Linked DNA regions of Homo sapiens: all the other regions are linked to region 3. Evidence: promoter capture Hi-C in human tissues and cell types (Jung and others, 2019). All regions are on one chromosome and are shown on one strand. Each heading gives the region's core, a stretch centred on a gene start or on the middle of the fragment in contact. The rest is flanking DNA. Distances are from core to core; before and after follow the strand shown.

Region 1 (6,281 bases), core at 526-3,025, 270 kb before region 3:
GCTGGCCTGGCACTCCCAGTTAGGGCGCCGTGTTCTGTTAAACATATCGACTTTGCTGGAGAGTCGCGTCATACAAAGCCAGTCTGTGGTTGTGACGCCTCAGTACAAAAACACACCACTCTCTAATCACGTCTGAATACTGTCCAAGACAAATGACCACATCACCTACCCTGGCCAGTCTGACAGCTGCTGCTTTACTAACTACAACTTTAGCCTCCGCCTACTCTTCCCTCCTTCTAGAGAAAAATTACTAAGAAGCCTAATCAGCTAGGTGCAGTGGCTCACACCTGTGATCCCAGCACTTTGGGAGGCCGAGGTGGGCAGATCACCTGAGGTCGGGAGTTCGTGACCAGCCTGGCCGACATGGTGAAACCCAGTCTCTACTAAAAATACAAAAAATTAGCCGGGCGTGGTGGTAGGTGCCTGTAATCCCAGCTACTCCGGAGGCTGAGGCAGGAGAATTGCTTGAACCCAGGAGGCGGAGGTTGCAGTGAGCTGAGATGGCACGATTGCACTCCAGCCTGGGTAAGGACAGCAAAACTCCTTCACAGAAAAAAAAAAAAAAAAAAGGAAAAACAAAAAGAAGCCTACTCATGGAACTACCCCTGCTTCCTGACTGCATCAAACCCAGAACAAAACCCCACTTCCTTAAACCCTCCCCAGAATACCTCCACAAGCCCCAATGCCACTGTAAGTCCTTTCCGGTGCCCTCTTACGAAGTTAACCTGTAGTTCTCCAGGGTGTGTGTGTGCTCTCCTTCACTGCAACGAGTGATAAACCCAGCTTGCTCCATTACAGGTGTGTTCCCAGTGGTCTTTCGCTGGAGGCATTGGCACATCCGAAGCTTGAATTGTCCTGTTCCTTTGTGAACGCTTTCTGGAGCCGTCAGAGGAAGCCAGCCCATTCCACAGTCTTTGTAATCCCCATTTTTGCTGAAGCAACTGCGTGTCTCAGCCATGTGATTCCCCATCTATTTTCCCTCCACGTGCATGGTGCCCCATGCTGCTGTTGATGAGAACGTGAGGAACTGAGGTGCTACTGTGTGATGTGAGCTCCCAGTGTTCTGTTTCCCCCAGCAAGGATTTATCCCCGTGTTCATCAAATGTATGAGCAATCCAGTCCTGGAATCCCATTCTGAGAGTCTGTTTCTTGGGACCAATTCCGATACCAATGACTGTATCAGTCAAGGGCCCATTATGAAGCCGATGGCATACTCAGAAGGATAACTAATCGGGTCCATCATGTAAGGGGCTTGAAAGTTGATGCTCTGGGCCGGGCACGGTGGCTCATGCCTGTAATCCTAGCACTTTGGGAGGCCAAGGCGGGTGGATCACGAGGTCAGGAGATCAAGACCAACCTGGCTAACACGGTGAAACCCTGTTTCTACTAAAATACAAAAAAATTAGCCAGGCATGGTGGCAGGCACCTGTAGTCCCAGCTACTCAGGAGGCTGAGGCAGGAGAATGGTGTGAACCCAGGAGGCGGAGCTTGCAGTGAGCCAAGATTGCACCATTGCCCTCCACCCTGGGTGACAGAGCGAGACTCTGTCTCAAAAAAAAAAAAAAGTTGATGCTCTGACCTAACAACAAGCAAACAGCTGAAAAAAAAAAAAACCTGAAAAATCAACAGCTTTTCTTAGAACCATCACAGAAGTGAGCTCTCTGGGCAAACTGCTGCCCCGAAAATTAGAGAGATAAACAGGTGGATACAGACAATCACAACTTACCAAAGCGGAGATCCACCTCTGCAAGAACCAGCACTGGAGGAGGAAAACCTGAACTGTAGTTCGTAAATTTCTGGAGGCTCAGTGTCCACAGGTCTGAGAGGGAAAACTTTCAGGAGGAGGAGGGCCCAGGCAGTCATCAGCCCCCACAACAGTCATCAGCCCCCCCATAGTCATCAGGACCCCCCCACCCTGCTCTTTCAGGAGGATCTAGGCAGTCATCAGCCCCCCACAGTCATCAGCCCCCCTCACCCTGCTCTTTCAGGAGGACCGAGTCAGTCTTCAGCACCCCACAGTCATGAGGCGCCCCCCAATTTCTGCTTTTGTGAGTTTTACCTCCAGGAATTCTACCAGATTCTCGCAGTGAAGAGCAGAGAAAAATCTCCCGGGGTTTACAGCAGGCAGAGAGGAAAAGGAACCATTTTGAAATAGGTTAAAACATTCTGTTCTTCTTAAAAAGGCCTCACCTCAGCAGAAACTAGTTTACCAGAGCCTACCCTACTGGGGTTTTATCAGAACCTCACTGACCTGTGGGAAGGAAAATGCCCAGCTCCAGCTCCCTCTAGCTTTCCATGTTGGAGGAGGGAACTCCTCAACTCCAGCTCCCCTTATGGACACTGTGCCGCCTAAAGGGGTGAAAAACAAAAAACAAACCTGAGAAGCACTTATGAGGTTCACAACCCAGCAGGACAGACTCACCGGGAGACCTAATCGCAGGCCTGTAAAATGCTTTCCTTCTCTTCACACCTCACCACTATGTTACTAAAGGCCTATTTACTGTAGTTCCCTTGACTCAGTGAATCATGTCTGCCTTTCAACAAAGAATTACAAGGCGTACTAAAAGTCAAAAACAAAACAAAGAAACAAAAATGCCATTTGCAGAGATGGAATAAGCACCAGAACTGAGCTGGACCCTGGTGTGATAGCAATGTTGGAATTATCAGATCATGAATCTAAAACAACCATGATTAACATGCTAAGGGCCCTAGTGGATAAAGTAGACAACGTGCAAGAACAGATGGAAAATGAAGGCAGAGAGATGAAAATTCTAAGAAAGAATAAAAAAGAAATGCTAAAGATAAGAATAGTGGCTATAAAAATTAAAATTCCCTTTGATGAGCTTATTAGTAGGCTGGACATGGCTGAGGAAAGAATCTCTGAACTTGAGGCTACATTAATAAAGCCTGAAAAAAACAGGACAGAATATCCAAGAACTGTGGGACAACTACAGAGGTGTAAATATGTGTAATGGGAATGGGAATACCGGCAGGAGAAGAAAGAAAGGAACAGGGCCGGGTGCAGCGGCTCACGCCTGTAATCCCAGAACTTTGGGAGGCCGAGGCGGGTGGATCATGAGGTCAGGAGATCGAGACCATCCTGGCTAACACGGTGAAACACTGTCTCTACTAAAAATACAAAAAAAACCTAGCCGGGCGTGGTGGCGGGCGCCTGTAGTCCCAGCTACTCAGGAGGCTGAAGCAGGAGAATGGCGTGAACCCAGGAGGCAGGGCTTGCAGTGAGCTGAGATCACACCACTGCACTCCAGCCTGGGCAACAGAGTGAGACTCCGTCTCAAAAAAAATAAAATAAAATAAAAATACAAAAATTAGCCAGGCTTGGTGGTGGACACCTGTAATCCCAGCTACTCAGGAGACTGAGGCAGGAGAATCACTTGAACCTGGGAGGTGGAGGTTGCAGTGAGCCAAGATCACACCATTGCACTCCAGCCTAGGCAACAAGATCAAGACTCCATCTCAAAAAAAAAAAAAAAAAAAAAGAACAGAAGCAACATTTGAGGTAATTATGCCTGAGAATTTCTCCTAACTAATTGTCACACACCAAACAACAGATTCAGGAGGATCAGAGAACACCAAGAAGGATAAACAAAAAACAAAAACAATACAAAATAACTATACCTAGTTATATCATATGCAACCTACAGAAAGTGAAAGATCCCTGAGGGAAGCTAGAGTAATACACCTATAGAGGGGCAAAGATAATGATTCCATCTGACTTCTCCTTGGAAACCATGCAAGTAAGAGGAAAGTAGAGTGAAATATTTAAAGTGTTGAAAGGAAAATAAAACTGAACCAAGCTAGAATTCTGTATCCTGTGAAAATCCTTCACAAGTAATGCAGAAACACAGACTTTCTCAGGCAAACAAAAATCGAGAGAATTTGTTGCCAGTACACTTGCCTTGCTAGAAATGCTAAAAGAAGTTCTTCAGACACAAGGAAAATAATACAGGTCAGAAACTCAGATCCACATAAAGAAAGGAAGAGCATCTGAGAAGAAATAATTGAGGGTAAAATAGCTTTTTCTTATTCTTAGTTCATCTAACAGATAATAGCTTGTTCAAAATAATAGCAACAATATATTTGATGATTATAGTTTAAGTGTAAGTGTAATTACACAGTAATTACACAAAATAAAGCAATAATGCAGGGCTGGAAGGGAATAATTAGAATTATGTTGTTATTATAACATACTTGCACTATTCATGAAACAGTATAGTTTTATTTGAAAGAGGACTTTTATGTTAGTTGTAAATGTATATTGTGAACTCTAGGGCAACCATTAAAAAAAAGTAATCTAAAAAGAAGTATAATTGATATGCTAAGAAAGGAGAGAAAATGGAATCATATAAAATTCTTGGTAAAAACCACAAAAGGCAGAAAAAGAGTAGAGACAAAAATAGTAACAAAGAACAAGGGCAATGTATTAGTTTGATTTTATGCTGCTGATGAAGAACATACCTGAGACTGGGTGATTTATATACAAAAAGAGGTTTAATGGACTCTCAGTCCCACATGGCTGGAGAGGCCTCACAATCATGGCAGAAGGCAAAAGCATGTCTTACATAGTGGCAGGCAAGAGAGAGAAGGAAAACCAAATGAAAGGGGTTTCCACTAAAATACCATCAGATCTCATAAAACTTATTCACTACCACGAGAACAGTGTGGGCAAAACCACCCCCATGAGTCAATTAACTCCACCGGGTCCCTCCCACAACATGTGGGAATTATGGGAGCTACAATTCAAGATGAGATTTGGGTGGGGACACAGCCAAACCATATCAGGCAACAAATAGAAAATAGCAACAAACATGGTAGATATTAATCCAACTATAGCAATAATCATTTTAAACATCAATAGTCTAAAAATACCAATTAAAGACAGGGATTGTCAAAGTGGATTAAAAAATAAGACCCAACTATATGGTGACTACAAGAAACTCACTTTAAATATAAAGACATATATAGGCCGGGTGCGGTGGCTCACTCCTGTAATCCCAGCACTTTGGGAGGCCAAGGTGGTAGATCACCTGAGGTCAGGAGTTCAAGACCAGCCTGACCAACATGGAGAAACCCAGTCTCTACTAAAAATACAAAATTAGCCGGGCATGGTGGTGCATGCCTGTAATCCCAGCTACTTGGGAGGCTGAGGCAGGAGAATCGCTTGAACCCAGGAGGTGGAGGTTGCGGTGAGCTGAGATCACGCCATTGCACTCCAGCCTTGACAACAAGAATGAAACTCTGTCTCAAAATGAATAAATAATAAATAAATAAATAAATAAATAAATAAAAAGACATATATAGATTAAAGGTAAATGGAAAGAGAAAGATATACCATGATGAAAAAGAAAACTAGAGTAGCTATACTAATTTCAGACAGAGCAAACTTCAGAGCAAGGAAAATTATTAGGGATAAAGAAGGATATTACGTGATGATAAAGGAATCACTTCTCCAAGAGGATATAACGATCCTTAAAACATATCTGTCTAAAAACAGCACATCAAAATACATGAGGAAAAAACTAATCGGCCGGGTGCGGTGGCTCACACCTATAATCCCAGCACTTTGGGAGGCCAAGGCAAGTGGATCACGAGGTCAGGAGTTCAAGACCAGCCTGGCCAAGATGGTGAAAACCCATCTCTACTACAAATACAAAAATTAGCTGGGCACGATGGCAGGCACCTGTGATCCCAGCTACTTGGGAGGCTGAGGCAGGAGAATCGCTTGAACTTGCAGGGTGGAGGTTGCAGTGAGCCGAGATCAGGCCACTGCATTCCAGCCTTGACAACAGAGTGAGACTCTGTCTCAAAAAACAAACAAACAAAAACAACAACAACAACAAAGACTAATTAAAACTGAGGAATACACTTTAGAGACGTCAACACCCTTTGTCAGAAATAGACAGATACCGCCAGCAGAAAATAAGTAAGGACATAGCTGAACTCCACAGGACCATCAATCAGCTGAATATAATGGACTCCTATAGATTAAATCACCCAACAACAGCAAAATGCACATTTTTCTCAAGCTCTCATGGAATATTTACTAAGATAGACCATATTCTGGGCCATGAAGCACACCTTCACAAATTTAAAACCATAGTACAGTAAGATCAGACCACAGTTAAATTAAATGAGAAATCAATAATATAAAGAAAGCCGGAAAAGATGACTGGGAAGATTGTAATGAATGGACTCTTTACAAAGGAGGGGCAGAGTTCAGTGAATGAACAAGGTGTAGTGAAGCCTCGGGACATTTTTAG
Region 2 (5,255 bases), core at 2,340-4,839, 360 kb before region 3:
GGGGATCACAGCTGGCAGGGCAGGTGAGGGTACCACCCTCAAGGGTTGCACAGCCAGCCGCAAGAGCCCCGGCCTCAACCCACGCTCGACTCCCACGGCCCATCTGTGGGCATCTCATGCCGCACGGGCTGCCTGGCTCTCAGCCGAGCGTTTTCCCTCGTCTGCTGTCTCTTGGCCAGAGCCGCAGCATTAATACTTACTGTCAATAGAGAAAGATGCAGCCCCAGGGGCCACCGGGAGACACCCAGCCGGGCTGGCCATGAGGCTGCTGCAGCCCCTCCCTGCCCCGCCCTCCACCCCCTCCCAAGCTTGGGGTCTGGGCTGGGCAGGTGAGGCTCCCTGGGGTCTCTCTCCATCTGTGGAAGGGAGGCTGGGTGGTCAGCAGGGCTGGAGGCAGGGGGCTTCCCCCAGTGGCTCCCAGCCTGGGCCCGGGGGGAGCTGCGTCTGGCTGCAAGGTTTGGGGGCTGGTTTGACCAGAATAGCCACCTCCTTGCATCTGATTCTTCCGGGCCATGCAGCCTTGGCTCCCCTCACCTGAGCAGGCAGGGCCTAGGGACTCTCAGCCCACCCGTCCTCCTGTCCTCCACGCACGTCCAAGTTGGGGAGATCAAGCCCTTGGCAGGGACTGTGCTTTAGTCACCAGATGCACGTCCTGTGGCCGGGGAAGGCAGCCCTGCACAGAGCAGCTTCATGTTAGGGGACACACCCCAAAGTGATGGGGTGGCTGGTGGTGGGCACTTCTCTGGCTACAAGATGGAGGCCCAGGTGGTCCAGCCCAAGGAGGGCACTGCACGGAGCAGATAACCAAGGGCAGTCAGCCTGGGCAGGGGAGGGGCTGCCTGGGGGGGAGGGGTTGCCTGGGTTGGGGAGGGGCTGTCTGGGGCAGGGGAGGAGCTGCCTGGGGCGGGGGAGGGGCTGTAGGGCCAGGGAGGGGCTGCCTGGGGCTGGGGAGGGGCTGCTGGGGTGGGGAGGGGCTGCCTGCGGCGGGAGCCGGGGCGTGGGAGTGGCTGGTTGGGCTGGCACACAGGGGCAGGGCTGTGAGCTGTGGGTCGGGGTGGAGGACTCAGGGATCGGCTGGCTTTCTGGGAAAGGCAGTCAACCTGGATCTCTGGAGGCGGCCCCTGTGGTGGTTCCCAGATGTCAGCAGGACCTGGCTGGAAAAGCCAGGCAGGGCCAGGCCAGAGTGCGAACCACAGGGCCGGCCCCTCGCTGAGCCCTGACCATGCTGTGGGGGCTGGGGCCTCACCTCCCACCTCCCCACAGAGAGTCTCAGATCAGGATCCAGGGAGGAGCTCTGGGGTCCTGTGAAGGGGGCGCCCCAACCCAAACTGGGCAGACAATGGCCGGGGGTCCTCAGAGTCCTGTGGGTTGGAGCTGCCTCCTCCCAGCCTCCATGGGGTTGGTGGGTGAGGCCTTGCCCGGAGGCGGTGGTCAGCCTGGGGGACCTTGGGCGGCCATCCCAGTATCAACGGCCACACAGCTTGCGCGGCCCAGAGTCCTGCCCCCAGCCTGCCCCACTCGCCCTGACTTAGGATCTAGTTCGAAACTGGTTCTGTGTTTAGGTTTCTGCTAAGTCACGCCTGGAAGGCTCCAAGTGTGTCCTCCTAACAAAGCTGGTCTTTGTCCTTCTCCAAGGGATGTGTGGGATGGGGCGAAATCCCCCCTTGGGGCGGCCAACGCCTTTTCCTGATTCCATTTTCTCCCCCATCCCTTGAGAAGGAGGCACCATCCCCGCCTGTCAGTCGGGGACAGGGCAGGCCGTGCTGGGGGCAGCTCAGGGCTCCCTGCTGGAAGCTTCCATCCCGCAGGCTTTCCATAGCATTGAGCAGGAGCGGAGGCATCTGCGGCTGACGGTTGGGGTGGCCTGAGCGGCTGGGGAGGAGTCCCGGCCTTGGCCACAGTGTGTCGTGAGGGTGAACCTGCAGGGCATGGAGACCGCCACCAAGGACCCCACATGCGGCTGCCGCACCAGGGATGTGGCCAGGTCCGTGGTTGGGTTCGTGGCTGGCAGCCACATCTAGTTCCTCACTGACTCCCATTCCCTCTTCCCACAGAGACCCAGGGCCCTGTGGAGCCGAGCTGGGAGAATGCAGGGCACACCATGGATGGCGGTATGTGGCCAGGTTCGGGGGTGGGGGGTTCCTGACCAGGCTGGAGGGGCTGGAATTTGGGCTGGGGCAGGCAGACGCCTCTCCAAGCAGCCATGCGTCTGACAGAGACCCTCCCTGGGTCCCCTGCCCAGGACAATACCCAGCACCCGAGGCGGAGCTTGGTGCTCCAAAGAAGAGGAAAGTGCAGAGCAGAGAGACATGCACACAGAAGCACACGCGTGGACAGGCACATGCGTGCCCACACTTACACTGGCACACACATGTGTGCACACACAGGCCAAAACACAAGGGCAGCAGTGTTTGTGGGGCAGACAGGGCCAAGGGTAAAGGGGCTGCCTTGGCCCCAGCCCATCAGTTTTGGGCTCCCCTTCAACTCTGGTGGCTGGCGAGGAGGGTGGGCCCCGGGGAGGGTGTCTCTGCTTCCCCTTCCTGGCCACGTTCCTGGGGTGACCAGCCTTCACCCACAGGTGCCCCGACGTCCTCGCCCACCCGGCGCGTGAGCTTTGTTCCACCCGTCACTGTCTTCCCCAGCCTGAGCCGTAAGCAGATGCTGCCCCTGCCAGCCGGGAAGGGGGTGTTTGCCAGTCCCAAAGGTGGGGGCCCAGATCTAGGGGTGCAGCTGCCACCAGGTGGGGCCGTTGGGCCAGACCCAGAGTCCTCCGTGTGGGCGGTCTCCTGGTCACTGGCCACCCTGGGGGATGGGGACGGGTCAGGGGTCTTGGAGCAAAACAGACGCAGTCCAGGGTGAGCCAGGCAGGGCACAGCCAGCAGCCGACCATGGGCTTTTCCATTCCAAAAACCAGGGTGCCTCGGCCCAGGGGAGGCTACCCCGTGGGGGGCTGGCATGGGGATGGGCCTCATCCCGCGCTCCCCACAGCCCTGAACCCGGCGCACAATGGGCGGGTGTGCAGCACCTGGGGTGACTTCCACTACAAGACCTTCGACGGCGACGTCTTCCGCTTCCCTGGCCTTTGCAACTACGTGTTCTCTGAGCACTGCCGCGCCGCCTACGAGGACTTCAACGTCCAGCTACGCCGAGGCCTAGTGGGCTCCAGGCCTGTGGTCACCCGTGTTGTCATCAAGGCCCAGGGGCTGGTGCTGGAGGCGTCCAACGGCTCCGTCCTCATCAATGGGCAGCGGTGAGCCGGCCACCCTGGGGAGGGGCGAGGGCCGGGCCACACAGTGTGACCTCCCCACACGGCCATGTCTGACCTGGGCCAGGGCTGGGGGGGGGTTGGGTGGGCAGGCAGCCAGGAGAGCGGGGCCCAGGGAGAGACCCCGCTGTCTGCGCAGGGAGGAGCTGCCTTACAGCCGCACTGGCCTCCTGGTGGAGCAGAGCGGGGACTACATCAAGGTCAGCATCCGGCTGGTGCTGACATTCCTGTGGAACGGAGAGGACAGTGCCCTGGTGAGGAAGCCCCCTCGCCCCTTGCCCCTTCAGGCCTGGCCACAAAACCCCCACCGGGGGTCGAGGGATGCCTCCCTGGGCTTGGGGTCACGGGGCTTGGGGCATGTTGCCAGTGTGGGGATCAGAGGTCCTGAGGCTGGAGCTGCCCCTCCCCACTCTCAGCTGGAGCTGGATCCCAAATACGCCAACCAGACCTGTGGCCTGTGTGGGGACTTCAACGGCCTCCCGGCCTTCAACGAGTTCTATGCCCACAGTGAGTGCCACCTGGGTGAGGGGGCGGTGACCAATTATGTCGGCCAACGAAGAGCCACAGTCCCGGGGAGGCCGGGAGGGGGCGGAGTGGGGACCGGGCACCAGGCAGGGAGGGGCCACGAGGACTGTGCCCTACATGGTGGGAGGAGTGCCCCTCGGGGGTGTTGGGCCCTAGGCAGGAGTGGGAGTCCTCTGGCCTGGGCTCAGGAAGTGGGAGCCCATATCTTGTCCCCAGGAGCCCCTCAGAGCCACCACACCCCTGCTTTCTTCCCGGCAGACGCCAGGCTGACCCCGCTCCAGTTTGGGAACCTGCAGAAGTTGGATGGGCCCACGGAGCAGTGCCCGGACCCGCTGCCCTTGCCGGCCGGCAACTGCACGGACGAGGTGAGTCCCCCGCCACCCCCAGCTCCTGGGCAGGGACGGCCTCCAGGTCCAGGGGGAGCTGGGCCGAGGTCTGAGGAATGTTCCCAGCTGGTGGAGAGATGGTGCCATTGGAGGGAGGCCGGGCAGCCACCCTCTGTGTGCTCAGTTCCACGGTACACACTGTCCGAGTGTGGTGACGTGCGTGTTCATCAGGCCACGCGTGTGCCCATCTGTGTGAGCAAACACAGGCCCATGCTGCACAGGCTGGGCTGAGGGTGGGCACTCGGGAAGCCCGGAGCCAGCCCTTCCCACCAGCAGGTGGACTCAGAAGGGGCCTGGAGGCTCCAGGATCCCCAAACCAGCAGGATCTCTGAGCCTTAAGTTGTGCTGTGAATGACAGCATGAGCCCCCCTGTGAGCTGGGCCCCGCAGCCGGCAGCCCTGGGCCTGGGGACGGAGGACACTCAGCACTGGACTGCCCTGAACCTGCCGGGCTGCCCAGAGAGGCGGGGCCTCCACCTCCCCTCCTTGGCTCCGCCTCCTGGGGTGGGGGTCTGCACCTTTCTTGGGCGCTTACTCCACGGGCAGGCACATCCGGAGTAGGGGATCCCCGGTCACGGGTCACTCCCCAAGGGCCAAGCAGAGCTCTGCATGGCCACAGTGGGTGGAAGGGGTGGGGCTGGGTACAAGGAACCCCGACAGGGAGAGGGCTTCCCGGCCTGGCCTGCCATGGGTCCTATTCCAGCACCGTGGCAGCCCCCATGGATGGCAGGGGTGCCCAGCCTGGCCCACTGTGCTCCCCAGGAGGGCATCTGCCACCGCACCCTGCTGGGGCCGGCCTTTGCGGAGTGCCACGCACTGGTGGACAGCACTGCGTACCTGGCCGCCTGCGCCCAGGACCTGTGCCGCTGCCCCACCTGCCCGTGTGCCACCTTTGTGGAATACTCACGCCAGTGCGCCCACGCGGGGGGCCAGCCGCGGAACTGGAGGTGCCCTGAGCTCTGCCGTGAGTGCTCCCAGGGCCTTCGCCAGGGATTGTGCCAGAGAGAAGGGGCAGGGGGAGCGCCTTGGGGGCCACTGGGGGTGGGGAGGCCTGGGGGACAGGGGTGGAGGGCAGAGGAC
Region 3 (6,542 bases), core at 863-3,362:
TTGCTGCAATGGGATTGCTGACCTTCCATATACATCCCCTCTGGAATGTCATATTTGCATTCTTCTGGCTTTTTTTGTTTGTTTTTTGTTTTTTTTGAGACGGAATCTTGCTCTGTAGCCCAGGCTGGAGTGCAGTGGCGCGATCTCGGCTCACTGCAGCCTCCGCCTCCCGGGTTCACACCATTCTCCTGCCTCAGTCTCCTGAGTAGCTGGGACTACAGGCGCCTGCCACCATGCCCGGCTAAATTTTTGTATTTTTAGTAGAGAGGGGGGTTTCACCGTGTTAGCCAGGATGGTCTCAATCTCCTGACCTGGTGATCCGCCCCCCTCGGCCTCCCAAAGTGCTGGGATTACAGGCATGAGCCACCGCACCTGGCCGCCGGCATCTTTAATTCAGACTGCCAGCTTCCAGAACCCTGAGAAATACACTTCTGTTGTACATGCCAGTCCATGGTGTTCTGTTACATCAGCCCAAAGAGAATAAGACCGCGTGGTAACAGGCCATGATGACCCCCTAGTGATTGCTTTTGCCTGATCAAGGCAAGGCACCCCCGCCCTGAGCCAGATGCTGAGAGGGTGTGGTAGAGGCTGCACGGCAAGGGGCTGAGCCAGGTGGCTGCTGGTGCTCCTGCCTCTGACCGCCACCATGTATCCAGGATCCCTGCTGGCCAGGGCGCCCACCTGCCTGCTCCGGTTTGGTTCAGGGCCGGTGTGTGTGTGTGTGTGTGTGTGTGTGTGTGTGTGTGTGGTTCCCAGGGGACCCAGTGTAGCCACAGATGCCCCCCACCTGCCTCGAGAGGGAAATAAACATAAATATACCAAGACAGCTATGGGGTGCTGGGGTGAGCGGTTTATTGGATGTTTAAAGGACAGAGATCTGAACTCCTAGTGACTGCAGAGTGAGCAAGCACCCTGGGCTGTCCTGCAGGGCTGTCCGTGCTGGATGTGGTGCCAGCAGGCAGGGCTTGCGGATAGGCATTTGCTGCAGGTGGCTGGGGCGGTGGGGGGCTGGTCTCCAGATGCCTGGAAGGGAGGCCTTGAAAGTCATTCTTCTTGGATGCATGGGCCCATGGCATTTCTTGGTAGAAGGTCAAAGAGAAGTGTTCATGCTTGGCAAGGCAGGAGGGTGGGAGATAGGGTAGTGGGTGGGGAAGGAGAGTCTGGCTCACTGGGTGCCAGGAAAAGGAGGTAAAGGCTGGGCAGGAATGCCTGGCCATGGTAAGAGTCCTGCAAAGCCAGAAATCAGATCTTGCACTGGCAGCACACGGGGACACAGCAACTGGACTGGGAGCAGCAGGGCTTGCAGCAGCTGGATTGGCAACAGGATGACCCACAGCCTGAGGAACAGCAGCAGGGCTTACAGCAACTGCACTGGGAGCAGGATGACCCGCAGCCTCCCTTAGACCCCGCGCAAGAGCCACAACTGGAACAGGAACAGCAACACACGGGCACACCGCAGCCGGAGCCACAGCCCCCACAGCCGGAGCCACAACCCCCCTTGGATCCCCCACAAGAACCGCAGCCCCCCTTGCAGCCTCCACAGGAGCCACAGCCCCCCTTGGAGCCCCCACAAGAACCACAGGCCCCCTTGGAGCACCCACAGGAGCCACAGCCCCCTTTGCCACAGCTGGAGCAGGAACAAGCTGGCACACAGCAGCACATGGGCTTGCAGCAGCAGACAGGCACACAGCAGCTGGAGCCACATCCCCCACAGCCGGAACCACAGCCACCCTTGGATCCCCCACAAGAGCCACAGCCCCCCTTGGAGCCCCCACAGGAGCCACAACCCCCCTTGGATCCCCCACAAGAGCCACAGCCCCCCTTGCAGCCTCCACAGGAGCCACAGCCCCCCTTGGAGCCCCCAGAAGAGCCACAGCCCCCTTTGCCACAGCTGGAGCAGGAACAGGTTGGCACACGGCAGCACACGGGCTTGCAGCAGCAGACGGGCACACAGCAGCTGGAGCCAGAACCTCCACAGCCAGAGCCACAGCCCCCACAGCCGGAGCCACAGCCCCCACAGCCGGAGCCACAGCCCCCACAGCTGGAGCCACAGCCTCCGGAGCAGCCGCAACAGCCCATGGTTCTGGTGGATTGAGGGTGGAGCAGGTAGAGGAGCAGGTGAGAGGGAGGTGCAGGTGTGGAGCTCCCTGAGCCTGGACCCTTTATATCCCTGCCCAGGGTCATGTGTGAGGCTGGGCACACATTTCCTGGTTCCTGTTTGTGCCATTTTTAGGGCCCCTTTTTCTTGTTTCCTCTAGAAATCCGCCCCTTGGTGTATGGGCTGCTCAGTGGGCTGCTGCTCTCTTGCTGAATCTGTGTCCAGACTTAATGGAGGCCCCCAAGGGTCTAGCCTCTCCCTGTTGACTCCAGAGTCACACTGGATTTACAAAAGCATCTATTTTAGGCTGGGCATGGTGGCTCACACCTGTAATCTCAGCACTTTGGGAGGCCTAGGCAGGTGGATCACTTGAGGTGAGGGGTTGGAGACCAGCCTGGCCAAAATGGTGAAATCTCGTGTCTACTAAAAACACAAAAATTAACTGGGTGTGGTGGCTCACATCTGTAATCCCAGCACTTTGGGAGGCCGAGGCAGGTGGATCATTTGAGGTCAGGAGTTGGAGACCAGCCTGCCCAACATGGCAAAACCCCATCTCTACTAAAAATACAAAAATTAGCCAGGCATGGTGGTGCATGCTTGTAACTCCAGCTACTTGGGAGGCTGAGGCAGGAGAATGGCTTGAACCCAGAGGTGAAGGTTGCAGTGAGCAGAGATCACACCACTGCACTCTAGTGTGGGCAACAGAGCGGGACTCTGTCTCAAAAAAAAAAAAAAAGTGATCTATTTTAGTTGAACGATGGTATAAAGAGTAATATATTTAAAAAATGTAAAAAAAAACCCTACTCAACTTGGGAAAAAATGGCATAAATAAATGAAGTCTCTGTTCCTCCATCTCTCCATATTGTTTCTGTCCCACCCTAATAATTTCTTGAATTTGGAATTCACCACTCTCATGAAGGTCCTCACACTCCTACTTAATATGTATGTTCCTTTAAAAATGTTTTGTGGCCAGGCGCGGTGGCTCACACCTGTAATTTCAGCACTTTGGGAGGCTGAGGTGGGCGGATCATTTGAGTCCAGGAGTTTGAGACCAGCCTCACTAACATGGTGAAACCTCGTCTTTACTAAAAATACAAAAATTAACCAGGTATGGTGGCATGTGCCTGTAATCCCAGCTATTCGGGAGGCTGAGGCAGGAGAATCGCTTGAACCTGGGAGGCAGTGGTTGCAGTGAGCTGAAATCACGCCATTGCACTCCAGCCTGGGCAACAGAGTGAGACTCTATCTCAAAAAAAAAAAAAAAAAAAGAAAAGAAAAAAGAAAAAAAAATTTTACATGCTGAAAACTTTATGTAATGGGTATTACACTGTATTTCTCTTTCTGTAAATTGCTTTTGAAAAAAATAGGTGTTAGGCTAAAGAGATTTTCTCTAGGGATACATATGGTTTTAATTTATTTGTTTTCTCTGATTTCTAAATATACATTGACTTATCCATTTACTTGTTGATGGACCTTTTGTTTCCTTTTTGTTGCTATTTCAAGCAAGCTGCAACTTTCTTGCCCAAAACCCCTCCTGCAGGTGTGGGTGCCTGAAAGTCAGGAGGTTCTTGTTACCAAGCTGTCTTCCCAAGGGATCCCCCCAGCCAGCTGCTGTCCAACCAGCATTGCCAGAGAGCTCCTGTTTCCTGGCACCCCCACCAAAACTTGCAACTGTCAACTTACACCCTTCATGTGGGTGTGTAACACAGTGTTACACACTGTGGTTTAATATTCCCTCTTCCTGGTTACTAGCCATGCTGTGCCTCTTTCCATATGGTCACCTGTCATTAGAGTCTCGTTAATTTCACGTCCTTGGCCCACTTTACAAAATTGAGATAGTTATTATTATTAATTTTTGAGATGGAGAGTCTTGCTCTGTCTCCCAGGCTGTAGCGCAATGGTGCGATTTCGGCTCACTGCAACCTCCGCTTTCCATGCTCGAGCAATTCTCCTGCCTCAGCCTCCCGAGTATCTGGGATTACGGGCATGTGCTACCACACCTGGCTAATTTTTGTATTTTTAGTAGAGTCAAGGTTTCACCATGTTGGTCAGGCTGGTCTTGAACTCCTGACCTCAAGTGATCCACCCACCTCGGCCTCCCAGAGTGCTGGGATTACAGGTGTGAGCCACCACACCTGGCCAAGATCATTATTATTTTTATTGGTGTCTGAAGTTCTTTGAATTTTCTGGATTCTTTTATTTTGAGATGGAGTCTTGCTCTGTTGCCAGGCTGGAGTGCAGTGGCATGGTCTCGGCTCACTGCAGCCTCTGACTCCCTGGTTTGAGCAATTCTCCTGCTTCAGTCTCCCCTGGGATTACAGGCACGTGCCACCACACCCAGCTAATTTTTGTATTTTTAGTAGAGACAGGGTTTCACCGTGTTGGCCAGGCTGGTCTCCTGACCTCATGATCCACCTGCCTCAGCCTCCCAAAGTGCTGGGATTACAGGCGAGAGCCACAGCGCCCAGCCTTTTGTTTCTTCTTCTTCTTCTTCTTCTTTTTTTTTTTTTTTTTTTTGAGACAGAGTCTCGCTCTGTTGCGCAGGCTGGAGTGCAGTGGTGTGATCTCGGCTCACTGCAACCTCTGCCTCCGAGTTCAAGCAATTCTCCTGCCTCATCCTCCTGTGTTTCTTCTTAACATAGATGTCATTTATTCTAAGTTTTTCAAATTTATTGGGATGTACTTTTCATAGTTGCCTCTGTTTTTGAAGATGGGATCTTGCTATGTTGTCCAGGCTGGGGTGCAGTGGCCGTTCACAGGCACCATCATAGCTCACTGCAGTCTCGAACTCACGCCTGGCCTCAAGTGGTCCTCAGCCTCTGAAGTAGCTGGGACTACTACAGACTACCACATTTGACTACTACAAATCCCTACCGTGTGCCACCACGCCTGGCTTAGTAGCCTGTTATTTTTAATAGCTGCTAAATTTGTCATTATTTGCTTTCTTTTCTTTCTTTTTTTTTTATGGCAGGGTCTCACTCTGTCACCCAGGCTGGAGTACAGTGGTGTGATCTCGGCTCACCACAACCTCTGCCTCCCGGGTTCAAGTAATTCTCCTGCCTTAGCCTCCCGAGTAGCTGGGATTATAGGCACCTGCTATCATGCCTGGCTAATTTTTGTATTTTTAGTAGAGATAGGGTTTTGCCATGTTGGCCAGCCTGGTCTCGAACTCCTGGCTTCAGGTGATCCACCTGCCTTGGCCTCCCACGGTGCTGGGATTACAGGCGTGAGCCACCGTGCCCAGCCTATTTGCCGTTTTTCATCCCTGCTTCAGGTTATACATGCTCTTTCTCCTGCCCGACCCTTTTTTTCCTCATTGGTTTTGCTAAATATTGTTGATTTTCTTTGTCTTTTGAAAGACCAGCTTTTGATTTTGTTGATTCTGTTTGTTGTATGTGTTAAACATTTTTATTTAGTTCTGCTCATATCTTTATTTTCTCCATTGTTCTTTTTGCACTTTCTAAACATGCGGGTGCTGGGGTGCGTGACTGTCTGCTGGACGTGGACTGTCAGGCCAGGAGGCGTGCGATAGAGAGTCACTGCCATCTGGGCTTTCTATCTGTCCCTCCTTCCTTCCCTCCCTCCCTCCCTCCCTTTTCTGCAGTCATTTTCATTCAGCTTCTTTCAGCCTTTCTGCAAGCTTCTGGGTGAGGTAACTACTGTGGGGCTGCTTTAAAAGCTCCCATATTTTGGGGTCTCTGTTCTTTACCCGATGAGCTAAGCCTGTGGGGTTTGCTGTGATTTCTGACATACGTGGGCTGCTTCCCACCACCCTTTGCATTTCACCATCCTGTGGTAGTGCTTCCTTCCCCTCTTCTTTTAGATGGAGTTTTTAAGGTTCTGTTTTTGTTTTTATTTTGTTTTGCTTTGACTGACTTAGAAGTTATATACACTATTCCTGTTTTTAGCAGCAACCTTATGCATTTCATGTGTATTTTTAAACAAATGTTGTCTACACGTGATGGCCCTCTATTCCTCCCCTGCTGAGAGTTGTGCAGGGAGCTGGGGACAGCTTCTTCCCCTGCCCAGCCCCTCCGGTGTCAGCTGTGGGAGTTTCTCCAGCGTCTTAGCTCCTCTCACATTGCTCATCATTGTTTATTTATAGTCAGTATTTGCTTAAACTTGCCACACATCCACCAACAACTCTAGGCGTGGTTCTTGCTTACACCATACTTCTTCCTTCCGGGCTCAGCTTCCTTCTTCCTGAAAACATCCTCCGGAAGTTCCCTCACAAGCATTCATCAGTAGACAGTCTGCATTTTTACATGGAGGTGGCTTGTTTCCTGCTCCTCCTGAGCATTCATCAGTAGACAGCCTGCATTTTCACATGGAGGTGGCTTGTTTCCTGCTCCTCCCGAGCATTCATCAGTAGACAGCCTGCATTTTCACATGGAGGTGGCTTGTTTCCTGCTCCTCCCGAGCATTCATCAGTAGACAGCCTGCA
Region 4 (6,903 bases), core at 1-2,500, 270 kb after region 3:
TGATCTGGTTTTAGCCCTGCCCATCGTCTGGGCCACGGATCCCTCTGGTGCCTCCACTCGTGGGGCTCTGAAAGCCTCTGCTGGTCTTTGTGGTGTGTTTGGTGGGTGGGGGGCTCGCTGAGTCCCAAGGAGGCGGCCTCCGGTTCGGCCCCACCCTGATGGGTCAACACTCTGGGCCCAGGGCCCTCCCAACCCCTGGCCTCTCTCCAGCCCCTCTTTGCCTTGGGACCCCCTGTAAGTCCTTGCTGGTTGGATTTCTCAGGCCCAGCCGCTGGCCAGGGCTCCCTTCTCCCATTCTCCTGCGCTGAGGTTTCCAGCAGGGAAGCCTTCGCCACCTCTGTGGCTGCCCTACTCTGGCCCAGCTTAAGTCCTCCCCTGCCTCAGCTTTTGGGGTCTGGCTCCTGCAGTCATGCATCCCTCCTCCTGACCCTGGAGCCACTGCGTGGTCACTCCCAGAAGCTGGGGACAGTGAGGGCTGGAAACAGCCTCCATCCCTCCCCTCGGGCTGGCCTATGCCTCTTGGGAGGGTCCCTGAGGCACTGCCTTTAGAGCCTGGGGACACGAACCACTCGGTGGTCAACTCCAGCGACCAGAGCACGGAGAGCAAGGGGCAGCGGGGGGACGAGGCGGATGCCCGACAGCTCGGCATCAGCAAGGCAGTCCAAGACAGAACAAGGCACCCGACGGGTAGAACGCAGGGGCATCCCGGGCACAGCCCCCAAAGCCACCTGGGACCCACAGCTGTTTGATGTGCTCAAGGCTATGACCCCAGGCTTCGAGAAAAGACTCCACCAAGTTCCATGAGCACCTGTAGGAGAGCCGGCCTCTGGGTAGATTTCACCCAAAGAAGCTAAAACGCTCACGTGGTGCTTATGGGATCACAGACGTGTTTGTCCCTGATGCTGCAGGAGAACTGGCCACTCACAGGTGGACCTGATGGCCAGAGCTACTAGCGGGGACCAGGGGTAACATGGGTCCCCCTCCCCGAGCCATGAAGAGCTGCCTGCGGCCATCTTGGCCCTCGCACCCCGTCTCTGTCACCCCAGGCCCCTGTAACTTGCTTAACGCTTCCTGAGGGGTGGTTTGGGTTTTTTTTTTTTTCTTCCTCTCCTCTTGTAGCAACAGATTAAAAAACAACACCCTGACCCAAGCCGAGACAGGTTCCAAACCTCAACCTGCAGCCGGAAGGGGGAAGTGAAACTCGGCTGGGGGTGGGGGCTCAGAAGCCGCCCCAGAAAGCACTGAAAGCCACAGCACGTACACCCACTCCAGGGATCTGCCAGCACCCTGTGGGGCCCAGACTACAGGCTGATGGCGGAGGCTTCGAGTGACCCGGGTGCCGAGGAGCGGGAAGAGTTGCTGGGGTAAGGGTCTGCGGCGACGCCCGGCGCCCTGTGCCGTGTCCACGGGTGCATAGTCCTTGAGCTGCATGGAGGGTGGAGAACTGAGGTGCCTGATGGGGAATCTGGGGCCCCCAATGGGAGAACTTGGATGTCCGATGGGGAAACTGGGGACCCACAGACAGGTGGCAGGAAGTCTTGCTGGGACCCCCCTCTCACAACAAGGGTGGAGGTCTCTTCCGCCTGCCTCTGTGCCCTGGACTCACTGGGGGAGGCGCGTGGGATCCTAAGCCCATGGTGGATGCCTGAAGCGAGGAGACCCCAAGACGTGTCCTGGACTGCCAGGGAGGAGCTGGGGACTGTGGGCCCTGTTAGCTTGGGAAGAGGCAAGGTGGGGGCTGGGGAGCAGCTGTTCTGGGATGGGTGGAACTGGCCCGGGCCTGGCCACCTGCCCACAGGACTATCTGAGAGGGGCTATCCTGCCTTGAGGGTCTGGAGGCCGCCAGGCTTGGGGCCCAGCAGGCCTCAGGGCAGGGCACCCAAAGCTGCCCTTGACCTGCGGTAAAGGACAAGGCCAAGGATTCTGGCAGGTGCCTGTGCTGGGTGCCAGGCACCGTGTGTTGGTTGGAGTGGGGACATGAGGGGGCATGGCAGAGGTTGTGTGTAGGACTGCCAGAGCTGGGCAGAAAAACCCCGCTGCCAAAGGCCTCCTAGCGGGCAGCTGTACTCTGTGGTACCAATGGGCATCCAGCCCTGTGCTGGGGTGGGTGGAGAGGGCTAGCGGCTTAGTAACTGGGCTCCCTGGCAGAGGGGAGCTGCCGGCCAGCAGGCATCCAGGCATCACAGCTGAGCCTCGCCAGGGGAACCCGAGTTGCCCCCGGTGCAGGTCCCAGAAGAGATGGGAGGGCTCAGGGCGTGCGGTGCAGGGACAGGTAGGGCTTTGAGGGGCAGAGGGGCGACGTGCTAATGGTCAGGGGATGGGGATCCGGTGCTGGGGATAGAGGCCGGCCTAGGAGCAGGTCAGCGGGGGCTGTGGCCTGGTGTGCGGAAGGGAAGGCGCTGGGGCCCAGGTTGCAGAAAGAGTGTGATGCCCGCAGCCACACAGGACGGACCTGAGAGGAGGCCCAGGGTGACGCTCACATACCCCAAAACTGCAGCCAGGGCTGCTACCAGTCTCTGCCTTGGTGCTGACAGCAGAGGGTCCCGGTCTACCCGACCCGGGGCGGTGCAGGGACCACCTCCCGGCCTTCACACAAAGCTCCTGTGCTGTTGGTGGCTGCAGTCACTGTCCTGTGTCTGTGTCCTTGGTGGCCGTCACATTGCTGTGGGTCTGGTATGTGTGAGGGGTCTGCATCTCTGACTTCTTGCTGCCAAATCCCACTTGGGTACAGGTGCGGGGGGCCACTGAAGGGACCCCGAGTGCCGTGAGTGGAGTGGAGGCTAAGCAGAGGCCGGGGCTGGCTGAGGGCTGGGTCGGGACGTCCGTGCCTGTCCCCAGGGAGAGGTGGGAGGATGCCCTGCCCAGGCCGTGTGCAGGGAGACAGGCTTCTGGGTGCACAACAGCTGTGTCCCAGCTGCAAAACGGGCCCTCCTGTCAGCACCACCCCCAGCCCTGGACTAGGTGCTGCTCCTGGTCACCTCATGCCCATAGAAGGGCAGGACATGAGCCTCTGGGCTGGGGCACCCCCGCCTTCCTCCTTGGCCTCATCCTTGGCCACCCCCTCCCAGCTGTCTCAAATGCCCTGGATCCCCCGGGCCAGGAGCGGGGAGGGGGGGTTGGAGCGGGCATGGCCAAGGCACAGATGATCCTGGGGCATCTTGGTGCAGATCCTGGGAGGCCAGGGCTGCACCTGTGCCGGGGCTGTCAGGCGCTCCAGCTGGAGAGCGGCGGTTCTCCTGGGCTCTGCAAAGCCTGGACCCCCTCCTTGGACATCCCCTGCCCCCGCGAATTGCATGGGGTGCGCAGCCAAGCCTGACCTTTCAGAATGAAACTGAGAGCCCCAGTGGGGTAGGCTTCTCATTTCACAAGGTGACTAAGGGAACCGGGGAGTTTCCTGTCTAGGATGGGACAGAAGTCCCCTGCACCCAGGCAGGGATGTATGGCCTGGGAAGCCCCCACACGGGAGTCCCCAGGAAGGCCCAGGCTGGGCAGGCTCAGCTGGGGCTGGAGCAGTGGACAAGACAGCCCCCCGTGCATGTCACAGAGTGCCAGGTACGCCAGCCTGTGACGGTCTCAGGACATGCCCTCAACACTAGGTCCAGGGCAGGCCAAGCCCCTCCAGCTGGACAAGTGGGTCCAGCCCCTCAGACTGTCGCATGATGTGGCCCCTCCCCTCAGACTGCCCGGGACGGGGCCAGATTCCTCAGAACCACCCCTCCATGATGTGGTCTCTCAGATGCCCCCAGGACAGGACTGTCCTCTCCCACGAGGCCTCAGGCCAAAGAAGGTCCCCTGACCCTGGGCGGGGTCCAGGCTCCGCTTCGGCTACCAGCCAGGCTGGACTGCGGTTCCTCCACTCGGGGGCACTCCTGTCTCGCCCCGCTGTCCAGCAGACAGTCACTAGCTTGTCCTTGTCCCTTGGGGGCAGGGACGAGGATTTCACAGAGCTGCCTTGTGGCTCTGGGGGGACTCTCTGGTGACGCTGGGGGATGCCTGCCCTCTATAGCCCCCAAGAGCAAGGCTCTCCCCACACTGAGGAACTATCTGGCCTTGGAGGCCTTGAGGCGATGAGGACGGGGCGTCCTGGTCCACAGCTGGGGAGGGTCAGGTTGCCCTCTCAGACCTTGGGTTCGACATATCCAGATGTTGGAGCCCAGCTCTGCAGGGGTGTACCCTCCCTGGGGTCACACTGCATTTTTGGCTGCAGTGCCTGTCCTTGGCCCAGCTGCCCGGGGGTGCCCACCCGCCCAGGCGTGCCCACCCCATGTCCACACCTAGAAGGCAAGTCTGCCTGCCGCCACCCTGTCCCACAGACACCCTGGCTGCCCTCTCAGTCTGCCCCTGTGTAGCCCAGGCCCCCATCAGGATGACCCTACCCCCAGTCTGTTCCCCATGAGCGACCAGGCCGTGTCTCCCACGGAAAGAACCATTCACCAGCTACAGGCAAACTCCATGCCCCTGGGTGGCCATGCCAGGCCCTCCTGGCCTGGTTGAACTCACTTCCCATCCCACCAGCTTTCCCAGCTCTTCCCAGTTTTGGAAGGTGTCAGAGCCCTGGCACATGCCCCTCCTAGCATCACCCAACCGCCCTGCTCCTCTGCAGACCTTCAAAGGCCTGCCCAGCCCGCGGTGGGAGGCCGCTGCCCAGGGCTCTGGCAGCACCTGCCATGGACAGGGCCAGTCCTGGAGCCCCGCCTGGCCCATCGGAGCCTCCCTCGCTTCTCTGTGTGCTGAGCTGAGTTGGGAAGGGCAGGGATGACCTGAGGGGCTGCTCTGGCAGGGTTCCTTCTGGCCATCTGTCCCTGGAGACCCTCAGAGCTCCAGATTCTGAAGGAGGAAGGGGCTGGAGGCCCCCGGCAGCCCCCTGGAAGTCTTCATCTGAGCAGCAGGAGCCCATGGGATGGAACCCCCCAGGCAGCCAGGCCCTTGGGCAGCCCTCCCGCCCACCTGCCCTCCGAGCCAAGGCCAGGCACCACCTGGAGGATGTGCAATGCTCCACGCTGGGGCAGGTGGCCCTGAGAGCCCCCAGCGGTGCCCACGACTGCTCAGGAAAGAGGGCAGAGCTGGGGACAGTTGGGGAAGCCACCTCAGCCCCAGCCCTAGCCCCACAGGGGCTGCTGAGGGAGGTTAGGATTGAGGGCTAAGCCCTGGGGCTCCCTCCCTACACCTTCCTGTGGTCAAGACCTGATGTCTGGACCCAGGATCCCTGGGGAGGTCCCCTTCCTCCTGCCCTGGGTAAGGGGTCTGAGGCATCTGGAAGTTTCCCAGGGAAGCAGAAGGATGTCTTCTTCCTCGTGGGCTGGCAGGCGCTGCTGTCCACCGACACCCAGCTGGGCTGGTCGCACAAGTGGGAGCATCACAGGCCCCACCCCCGCTGATTCTGGAAGCCAGAATCCTTTCTTCCTGCGCCCCCTTCCTGGTTCCCTCGTGTCTCCTAAAACAATCCTGGAGCCACACAAGGGCAGTGCCAGGAGGGTCTGGGGTCCAGCTGGGACAGGCCCTGGCCGGTGACACCCTGGGGTGGCAGGATGGTGGGCCTCTGCTCCGCTACCCTACGGGCCAGCCTGTCTCCACCTCAGTTCCCTGAGAACGTGCCAGAGGGATGGGTGAGCCCTAGAGAAGAGGAGGGTGTTGGCAGTGGAAAGGGCCCAGTGGTCTCCCGCTCTGAGTCCTCAGCCTGGTGAGGGGTGGGGGCGTGAGCTCTGCCTTGCAGTCCCAGCCCCTGAGATCCCACTGCTGGGGCGGCGGGAGGGGGATGGGCTGCAAGGCCCCAGGGCTGGCCTTGCTTCGGCTGCTATAGGCCCTCGGAGTGCTTTCTGGATGAGTAAGCCGCACCCCTCTGAAGCCTCAGTTTCCCCATCTGCACACTCAGAATGTAGCCACTCAGACCAAGCGTTCACTCCATGCCAGTCTTTGCCAAGCTATTTATTTATTTATTTGAGACAGAGTCTCGCTCTGTTGCCCAGACTGTAGTGCAGTGACACAATCTCGGCTCACTGGAACCTCCGCCCTCCAGGTTCAAGAGATTCTCCCACCTCAGCCTCCTGAGTAGCTGGGATTACAGGCACCTGCCACTGCCCCCGGCTAATTTTTGTATTTTTAGTAGAGAAGAGGCTTTCACCATGTTGGCCAGGCTGGTCTTGAACTCCTGACCTCAGGTGATCCACCCGCCCCAGCCTCCCAAAGTCCTGGGATTACAAGCATGAACCACCGCGCCCTGCCTTTGCCAAGCTTTTTAAACCAAGGCTCTTGTTTCATCCCCCGGAGCTGTGAGGCAGGTCCCTGGAGCCTCCCATTTCACAGACGGAAACCGAGGCTCACAGGGGCCAAGTGCATTGTCCAAGGGCTGCTCCCTGCCTGGGGAGGGGCCTGAGTCCTTGCCCCTGTGGGGTTCGGGTGCTGAGGGCCCACAAGACCTGCGGGCACCAGGAGGGAGCTGGGCTGGGCTGCCCTTCCCGGGGTCTCTCTGACCCCACACCACACACCAGCCACTCTGGACTCAAAGGCTCCCAAGAGCACCAGAGCACTGCTCATGGCCCAAGCTCAGCAAGCACTTAAAGGGACCGTCCCGAAAAGCGGAACTGGGACCGGGCGCTGCAGGACCAGCAAGGTCCTCCACTTCCCTCCAGCCCAGCCCCGCCCAAATCCCAGCCCTCAGCATCTTTTTGGGGGCCACTAAAGACCTTCTGGGAGATGGCAGCCCAGGACCATAAGGCAATCGAAGAGGGCTTTCCACATGCGCTGAGGCAGACAGAACCAGGCCCTGGCTGTGGACGAGGCTGTATTGATACTTAGAAGAGAGGGAAGCGAGCGGGCTGGAGAGGCTCGGCCAGGGGGCAGCCCAGCAGGGCCCCTTCCCCAGGGTTAGACTCTCTACAGCCGGCCCAGCCCCCATCCCCTCCC

What was found. Contacts are between HindIII fragments. The study calls those that stand out against the background at their distance.
Region 1: a contact is called between a fragment that was not itself captured here and the fragment with the promoter of KRTAP5-1 in region 3, in 2 of the 25 tissues and cell types used here (lymphoblastoid cells and spleen).
Region 2: a contact is called between a fragment that was not itself captured here and the fragment with the promoter of KRTAP5-1 in region 3, in 1 of the 25 tissues and cell types used here (lymphoblastoid cells).
Region 4: the fragment with the promoter of LSP1 here is called in contact with the fragment with the promoter of KRTAP5-1 in region 3 in 1 of the 25 tissues and cell types used here (mesenchymal stem cells).

What each region holds. Positions count from the first base shown.
Region 1 is chr11:1,317,552-1,323,832 of GRCh38, forward strand. No RefSeq gene overlaps it. Among named protein-coding and RNA genes, the nearest start is that of TOLLIP-DT, 11 kb to the left of the region's middle. The HindIII fragment of the contact is 8,078 bases long and covers 1-5,814 here.
Region 2 is chr11:1,223,627-1,228,881 of GRCh38, forward strand. It overlaps MUC5B (mucin 5B, oligomeric mucus/gel-forming), which reads left to right. Exons shown (of 49, transcript NM_002458.3): 2 at 2,055-2,111; 3 at 2,579-2,650; 4 at 2,989-3,250; 5 at 3,405-3,519; 6 at 3,682-3,772; 7 at 4,049-4,155; 8 at 4,938-5,139. Among named protein-coding and RNA genes, the nearest start is that of MUC5B, 3.2 kb to the left of the region's middle. RefSeq lists enhancers at 1-674, 675-1,372. The HindIII fragment of the contact is 5,077 bases long and covers 1,052-5,255 here.
Region 3 is chr11:1,583,171-1,589,712 of GRCh38, forward strand. It overlaps KRTAP5-1 (keratin associated protein 5-1), which reads right to left and starts at 2,113. Exons shown (of 1, transcript NM_001005922.1): 1 at 1,172-2,113. The coding sequence starts at 2,079. The coding sequence ends at 1,243. All of the region lies in intron 1 of KRTAP5-AS1 (KRTAP5-1/KRTAP5-2 antisense RNA 1), which reads left to right. The HindIII fragment of the contact is 15,838 bases long and covers 1-6,542 here.
Region 4 is chr11:1,851,834-1,858,736 of GRCh38, forward strand. LSP1 (lymphocyte specific protein 1) reads left to right here and starts at 1,251. Exons shown (of 11, transcript NM_002339.3): 1 at 1,251-1,364. The coding sequence starts at 1,312. RefSeq lists enhancers at 1-31, 1,023-1,342, 3,193-3,622. The HindIII fragment of the contact is 16,836 bases long and covers 1-6,903 here.